2 separate regions of the Homo sapiens genome follow, and region 1 is linked to region 2. The links are contacts of gene promoters, found by promoter capture Hi-C in human tissues and cell types (Jung and others, 2019). All regions are on one chromosome and are shown on one strand. The core of a region is centred on a gene start or on the middle of the fragment in contact, and the rest is flanking DNA. Distances in the headings are between cores, read along the strand shown. Region 1 holds the start of LOC100996662 (a long non-coding RNA gene). Region 2 holds the start of KIFC2 (kinesin family member C2).

What was found. The method cuts DNA at HindIII sites, captures the fragments that hold promoters and counts their contacts. A contact is called where the count stands out against the background at its distance.
Region 1: a contact is called between a fragment that was not itself captured here and the fragment with the promoter of KIFC2 in region 2, in 1 of the 25 tissues and cell types used here (H1 embryonic stem cells).

The regions. Positions count from the first base shown.
Region 1 is chr8:144,696,680-144,700,604 of GRCh38, reverse strand. It overlaps LOC100996662 (a long non-coding RNA gene), which reads right to left and starts at 214. Exons shown (of 3, transcript XR_001746144.3): 1 at 127-214. It also overlaps a transcript of ARHGAP39 not described here. The HindIII fragment of the contact is 3,287 bases long and covers 284-3,570 here.
Region 2 is chr8:144,464,726-144,468,474 of GRCh38, reverse strand. It overlaps KIFC2 (kinesin family member C2), which reads right to left and starts at 2,138. Exons shown (of 18, transcript NM_001369769.2): 1 at 1,957-2,138; 2 at 1,637-1,715; 3 at 1,365-1,516; 4 at 1,134-1,272; 5 at 845-990; 6 at 696-761; 7 at 488-616; 8 at 69-146. The coding sequence starts at 2,055. It overlaps TMEM276-ZFTRAF1 (TMEM276-ZFTRAF1 readthrough), which reads left to right and starts at 2,774. Exons shown (of 5, transcript NM_001408018.1): 1 at 2,774-2,904; 2 at 3,379-3,666. The coding sequence starts at 3,574. TMEM276 (transmembrane protein 276) reads left to right here and starts at 2,983. Exons shown (of 3, transcript NM_032687.4): 1 at 2,983-3,122; 2 at 3,379-3,666. The coding sequence starts at 3,574. RefSeq lists enhancers at 1,145-1,244, 935-1,771 and silencers at 1,415-1,474, 1,545-1,854, 1,905-2,464, 2,525-2,654, 2,725-2,984 and 1 more. The HindIII fragment of the contact is 34,202 bases long and covers 1-3,749 here.

The DNA of each region.
Region 1 (3,925 bases), core at 678-3,177, 230 kb before region 2:
ACGCCCCGCTTTTATTGGCTCCGCTCCGTGACCACGCCCCCGCAACCTTGATAGACTCCACCCCCGAGGACCCTTCTCAGGAGCACAGTGACCCCGCCTCCACAGGGTCCGCTCCGCCACACTGACCCTTCCGTGTCGCTCGCGGGACCCCACCCCTGTCCGCCTGCTCCGGTGCCCATGGGGAAGCCTGGTGCCAGGGGTCACCAGTCAGTCCAATTCACCGCCCGACTGGTGGGACAAGGACAGGTCAGCGGGTCACAGGCCGGAAGTGAGACTCGCCCGGCCGCTCTGGGACGCGGGAAGACCGAGGCCTCGGTGGTTCCCCTCTCTCCCGCCTGGCTCCCTCAGGAGAAGGAGCGGCTAAGGTAGGACCCGACACCGCGGTCGTACCCGCCTTCTTTTCTGTCCCAGAGTACAGCCTGGGATCTCCAGGGGGGAGACTGAATGAGTGCTGTCGAGGACCGGCGAGAGTCTGGAACGTTCGCGCCTTCGTAGGAGAACGAGGAGGTGACGGACAGGGAACGGGGAGCGGCCGTTGGGTGGGACGCCTGAGACCCTCGGGAAATGGCCGGGTCGCCGACTGTTTGCACCACTGGCATCCTGCAGCACTGTGAGATACGGCCCCGTTTGTTCCCAGAATGTAAATCATCCCGCACAGAAAAGGATGCGATTCACGGAGAAAGAGTTCTGTCTCCTCTCTGGGCACAGCTCTCTCTTTCCTGGAAGACAGCGGCCCTGGACAGGCTGGGGGCCCCCGACAGGTTCTAGCCCGGAGGAAGGCGCTGTGACTGGGGGCTCCAGTGGAGACAGAGGACCTTGATGGATTTTATTCTTGTGAGAAGCCCGCTTTCCTACCCAAACCTCATGCCAGTTGGTGACGCGAAGTCAACTTGGGCACTGATCCAGCCCACCCAGCCCCGCATGGTCCGCAGACTGTCCCACCCTCCCGTCCCGTAGCCCACCAGCACCCCGCCCCGCCCTGCCGCCGAGCGCCCACACAGCCTCCCCTCCGTGCCCCCAGCCCACCAGCCCCCTAAGCCTCCCACAGCACCTTGCCCCACAGCGCCTCACGAGGCCTCGACCTCGGGTCCCTCAGCCCCACCGCCCCTGACAGCGCCAGGCCCCACCCCACAATACCCCACAGCCTCCCACCCCCGCCTCAAGGCCCCAACCTATGACCCTCCACATTGCCCCACCCACAGCACCCCCACACCGGCCCGCCCCAAGGTGCCCCACAGCACCCCACCCCACAGCTCCCCAGAGTGCCCCTTCCCATAGCCCCCCACACCACCCCGCCCCACAGCGCCCGCCCCAAGGCCCCGCCCCACTGCCCTGCCCCACCCATCCCCTACACCGCCCTCCCCTACAACACACCACCCCGCATCCTCCATAGCGCCCCCACCTTCAGTTCCCACACCACCCTGCCTCACAGCGCCCCTCACTGCCCCATCTCCCAGGGCTTACAGTCCCCACCCCCTGCATCGCCCAGCGCCTGAGAGGCTGGGCTCCGGGTACCTCCCAAGAGACAAGAGGTGTGTCCCACGCCCTGTGCAGTGAGAAGCCCTGGAACTCCAGGACCCTGCTTTTTTAGGCAGAATGCTATGGATGGGCCACTCCAAAGAGAAACGCGGCTGGGGCCTTCTCACTGGGGTTGCAGGCCGTGGGATGGTGTGAACACTCCATGTTTATTCACATCTTGGACCCCCCAACCCCCCCAAGGGAGGGGTGGCCTTGTCTTTGCAAGAAGGCTTCTGAGTCCTTAGAGGTGAAGCTGTGTCCTCATTCCACTCCCCACTGATACCCAAGCCAACAAGGAGATGCCCTGACCCACTCATGGCCAAGGACACTCATGGAAAAGGCCTTCGTCCTCTCAGTACAGACTGTGCCAGGCAGGCCAGGAAAAGCCAAGAAAATATGGATGGAACAGATAGGTTCCTAGCAAAATACTAAAGCTGAGCCAAAGTAGAAAACTTGAATTAACTAATTGCCAAAAAAAAAACAGATTAGAGAGGTGATTAAAAAGCTACCATTAAGAAAGCTCTAGATGGCTCCAGATCACAGCTGAGCTCTCACCAACCTTTAGAGATCAGATAATTTGAAAGTTAATTACAATCTTCCAAGCCACAGAAAAAGATTAAAAACCTCAATTCACTTTACGAAGCCTTCTGTCTGTAAGCTTGTCTAAGTCTATGTTGCTATAAAGGGAATACCTGAGACTGGGTAATATAAAGAAAGGAGGTTTATTTGGCTCACAGTTCTGCAGGCTGTGCAGGAAGCATGGCACCAGTATCTACTGGTGAGGCCTCAGGCTGCTTTCACTTATGGTGGAAGATGAAGGGGAGCTGGTGTGCAGAGATCACACAGCAAGAGAAAAGGCAAGAAAGAGAGTGGGTAGAGGCCAGGCTTGTTTAAACAACCAGCTTTTGGGGGAATTCATAGAACTAGAACTCCCTTATTACCATGAAGAGGGCACCACGCATTCATGAGGGATCCACCCCCATAATCCAAACACCTCCTACCAAGTACCACCTCCAACATTGGGGATCAAATCTCAGCATGAGGTTTAGGAGGACAAACACCCAAACCATAGCGAAGCTTAACACGCCAAAATGATAGAGCTCAAAGAATCTATAGACCCAGATCTCTATGTTTAATATTGAAAAACAAATTATAAATAAGACAGTAGCAAATAGAATCAAGCAGCATATCAAAAAAATAATATGCCATGGCCAAGTATGGTTTATTTCAGGAATACAAGGATACCTACATACCATTGCAATTCATTAGCTCAACAAATTAAAAGAGAAAAAACAGGCCGGGTGCAGTGGCCCACACCTGTAATCCCAGCACATTGGGAGGCCGAGGCAGGCAGATCACCTGAGGTCAGGAGTTCGAGACCAGCCTGGCCAACATGGTGAAACCCTGTCTCTACTAAAAATACAAAAAAATTAGCTGGGCATGGGAGGCTGAGGCAGGAGGATTGCCTGAACTCGGGAGGTGGAGGTTTCAGTGAGCTGAGATCACGCCATTGCACTCCAGCCTGGGCAACAAGAGTGAAACTCCTTCTCAAAAAAAAAGAAAAAGAAAAAGAAAAAACAGCATTCCATCCACATATGCTAAATAATAACATTGAATACAATTCTAGAGCCATTCTGAGTAAAATTTCAAAGAAAATAGGAATAAATGAAAATGATTTAAATATGGTAAAAATTATTAACCATAAACTCCAAGAACAAGCATCATTTATAGAACGATATGCTAAAGCTATTACTTTTTTTTTTTTTTTTTTGAGAGGGATCTTGCTCTGTCACCCAAGCCACGATGTCAGCTTACTGCAACCTCCTCCAGGTCCTGGGTTTAAGCGATCCTCCTGCCTCAGCCTCCCGAGTAGCTGGAACTACAGGCGCATGCCATCATGCCTGGCTAATTTTCTTGTATTTTTAGTAGAGATGGGGTTTCACTATGTTGGTCAGGCAGGTCTCAAACTCCTGACTTCAAGTGATCCGCCTGCCTCGGCCTCCCAAAGTGCTGGGATTACAGGCATGAGCCACCGCGCCCGACCAGGATCATTAATATATTTAGAAGAAATTAAAGTTGTCCTCTGTCTCATAACATATATGAAAATATTTCTAGAGGTATTTAAAGCCTTAATTAAAAACAGAGCAATAAATAAGCCAGTCACGACAAATTCTGTATAATTCTGCTTATGTGCAGTACCTAGAGCATTCAAATCCATACAGACAGAAAGAATGTTGGTTACTAGGGACTGAGGGGAGGGGAGAATGGGGAGTTAGTGTTTAATGGGGACAGTTTTAGTTTTACACAGTTAAAGAGTTCTGGAGATGGATGATGGTGATAAGTGCACAACATTGTGAATGTATTGAATATCACTGAACTGTACACTTAAAATAGGTTAAGATGGTAA
Region 2 (3,749 bases), core at 889-3,388:
GATAAGCCCCTCCCAAAACCCCAGCCCGCCTCACCCCTGAGCCATGGATCCCTGGGCCCCATGCCCACCTGGGCTCGGAGGGCTTCTGTGGTGTCTTGGGCCTCCTGAAGCCGGCCCTGGAGCTCTAGCAATGCCTCTGCCTCCTCCTGCGGGAGGGTGGGGGCCAGGAGGGACTCAGAGAGGGACGGTCTGTGGTACCATTTCACAGATGGGAAAGTCAAGTCAAGAGGTGGGCAGAGCTGGCTGTGAACCCATGCCTCCCAGCTCCACGCAGACCTCCTTCCCACAGTCCCTCTGCTCTCCTGGGGTCAGCCACTCAGAGGGGCCACGGAGAGGGGGGTCTTCCCATTGGCATCAGCCTCCCTGATGGGGCTGCCCTACACAGACCATCCCGGGAGGTCCTGAGGAGGCTCGGGCCCTGTGGCTGCATGCCAGGTGTGCAAGAGCCCCAGGCTGCAGGAACGGCTGCAGCTCGGGAGCAGAGTACCTGCGGAGCCCTGATGGGGGGCCCGGGGCCCCAGTGCAGCAGGAGGTCCCGCATGAGACTCAGGCTCTGCTTCAGGGCCTCGTTCTCCAGAGTCAGATGCTGAACCCTTTTCTCTGAGTCCGTCGCCCCCTGGTGGAGAGGAAACCTCGGCACTCACCTGAAGCACCCCCTCCATGCCCGGCCCTGCCAGGTCTCCCTGCAGCCTCACCACGCCCAGGCGCAGTCGACCCAACTCCTCCTCCTGCTGTTCCAGCTGCTGCTTCAGCTCCTCCAGCTGGGGAGAAGTAAGAGAGACAGGGTGGACCTCCTTTTTCTGGCGTCCCAGCCGGCAATCCCTTCTGGCTCCAGGGACCTCACCTGTCCCAGGATGAGCTGCTCCAGCCGCTGCCACGCCCTCTGATCCTCCTCCAACTGGAGGGGCTGCTGTCCCTGGGTCTCATCCCCCAGTGGCTCGCCTGGGACTGCGGTGAAGTGGGAAGGGCTTTCTTCTTGGGATGTGGATCCTGGAGTAGGGTGGGCCCAGTTAGCACTGAAGAGGTCTCTAGTCCAAATCTTCCGGAACATGACCCCGAACTCCAGGCCGCCCAGGTTCTACCGGGATTTGCTCCCTCCAGAGTTCTTCTTCAACTTACTGTCCTTTACTCACCATCTGGAGAGGGGGGCCGGACCCGAGGGGCTGGCTGAGTCCCCTGGAGCAGGGCCTGCCTCCCCCTGGGGCTTCGAAGCCATGCCAGAAGGGCCAAGAGCTGACTGGTCACTGTCAACAGTGAGGGGACCTCGCCAGACTGCGAAGGAGACAAGAATCCGAGCAGGGCTGTGAAAGCCAGGAAGGCCGGGGCAGGTGGTACCTGCCAGCAGCCCCCTCCGCCGCGCTCACCTGGCCCAGGTCCGCCGGGCCCCCGCAGCTCTCTTCCGCCCCCAGCTGGACGGAGAGGAACTCGGCGAGGCGCAGTAGGGCCTCTTCCAGGGACACCGCGGCCGCGCGGCCCTCGGCTGCGCCTTCCGACCCATCCTCAGGCTCGGAGCTGGCTGCCGGTCAGGGAGGAGGGCGGGAGACATTTCGGGTCACGTGCTTGAGCCAGGCCTCCGCCCCTCCCTGGGAGGTCCCGGCACCGCCCTCGCACCGCGGGACTCCCAGCCCGCACCTACCGGCCAGGCCGGTCAGCTCGGTCCACAGCTCTGGCGCGGGCAGGTCTGGGCGCCGGCGACCCCGGGGCTTGCGGGCTCTCTAGGGAGGGGGCAGGGGCGCCCCTGAGGAGGGGGGCAGGCAGCCTGCTGGCCCCTTCCCTCCGCGAACCGGGCCGGAGGATTGGGGCCGAAGTCTACGCTTCCAGCATCGGGGCCGAGCCGAGGGTCCTCGGCACGGCCCCGTCGCCCCGCGCCCCGTGCCCGCCCCCGCCCCGGGAACCTCGGCGTGGGGGTGGGGCAGGCGGCGGGAGACGACGGGCTGCACGGCCAGCCCCGCTCACCTGGGCGGGGTCCCCGGGCTCCGCGGCCGCCGCGGCGCCACCATCCCTGCGGAAGAGGCTGTAGAAGATGTAGATGAGCAACGAGTAAAAGGCGTACATGGGAGCGCGGGGCGGCAGAGGGCCCCGCTTCGCGCCGCCCCGCGTCCCCGCGCCCAGACTCGGCGCCCGCCCGCCGCAGTGCCGGTGCGCATGCTCGCGACGGCCGCCCCCACGGCCCGGCTCCCACGGCTGGAAGGCGAGCGCGGGGACGGGGGTACTAGAAACAGGTGCCCGCGGCCGCACCTGGAGACCCGCCGTTTCTCACGGCGCCGCCCGGCGCGCCCCAACCCCTACACCGCGGACACCGGGCTGAGAGCGCCCACGGCTCCCGCGACCCTCCTCTCGGAATCCCTCCCACCCTCCGCGTAGTCCCCCACCGCTCCGGTTTCGCGGAGCCTTCAACACGCCGGGGTTCTCCTTCCTCTCCCTACAGCCCCGCCCATCTCAGCCCCGCCCATCTCAGCCCCGCCCAGACCCCCCCTCCTCGCAGCCCCGCCCAAACCCCGTTCCTTGCAGCCTCGCCCAGGCTCCTCCCCTCTCGGTCCCTCTCAGTCTCGCCCAGACCCCTCTCCTCGCAGCCCCGCCCAGGCCCCGCCCCTCGCAGCCACGCCCAGACCCCCCCATCGCATCCTCGCCCAGGCCCCGCCCCACCCAGGCCCCCTCCCTCTCAGACCCGCCGCTCTCAGCCCCGCCTAAACCTTATCTCCCTCAGCCCCGCCCAGACCCCCCGCCCCTCGCAGCCCCGCCCAGACCCCGCCCCTCGCAGCCCCGCCCCGGCCCTTCTCCCCTCATCACGCTCCTTCCAAACCACTATGCCCACGCACGCACCCACCCAAACAGAGCGTTTTCTGGTCCCCGAGCTCCTCCCGACCCCACCCGCTCCTACGGCCTCCAACCGGCCCCCCCCAGGTCTCGACCCTCTCCCCCAGGCCTCGACCCTCCCCCCCCAGCCGCTCTAGCCCCGCCCGGCCGCTCTAGCCTCCGCTCCTCTCGCTGGTGGAGGTTCCCGACCGCGCTCGCTCCCGCAACTGGGGGCACGGCAGAGGAGGCAGGGCCGACGGCGGTGGGCGGTGCGTTGCGCAGGCTCGGGCCTCCCGCTCGCCGCTGCGTTGGGACCGCGCAGCCCGGTAACTGCGCACGGCTGGCCTCCCGGAGTCCTGCGCCGTCGCTCCTCCTGGACCCGGGTTCCCAGGACAACGCCTCCCGGAACGCAGGGAGCAGGCCGAGGCCGCCGCGTGGGCCTGCAGCGCCTCGCCGCTCTCTCTTCCCCAGGCCCGCACTCCCACTTGGGCTCCAGGGCCCCAGGGCTGACGTTCCCCCCAGCTTAGACCCTGAGTCGTTTTCCCCCGTTTCCCGGCTGAATTAGGTTCTTCTTCTCCACAGGTGTGTGCAGTGGCCTCAGGGATCCGGAAAGTCTAGGACTGAACTTCTCCTAACATCCAGTAATGGGGACCTGGAACCTGGGCTTACTAGAGTGCCGCGCGTAGGGCTCCAGGTCGCTGGCTTCTGCGCTTCCTTCCTCTCCAAAGTTGAGTATCTCCTATCTGTGTCCTCGTACATACTGCCGCCTGAGGTGCCATGGCCCCCAAGCCGGGGGCCGAGTGGAGCACAGCCCTGTCCCATCTGGTGCTGGGAGTGGTGTCTCTGCACGCAGCCGTGAGCACAGCCGAGGTGAGTACACTGGGGCTGAGCAGGGGCGCATCCCCATACCTCCCAAACCCCAAGGACCTAGTTTCCTGAATTAGAGAGAGGTT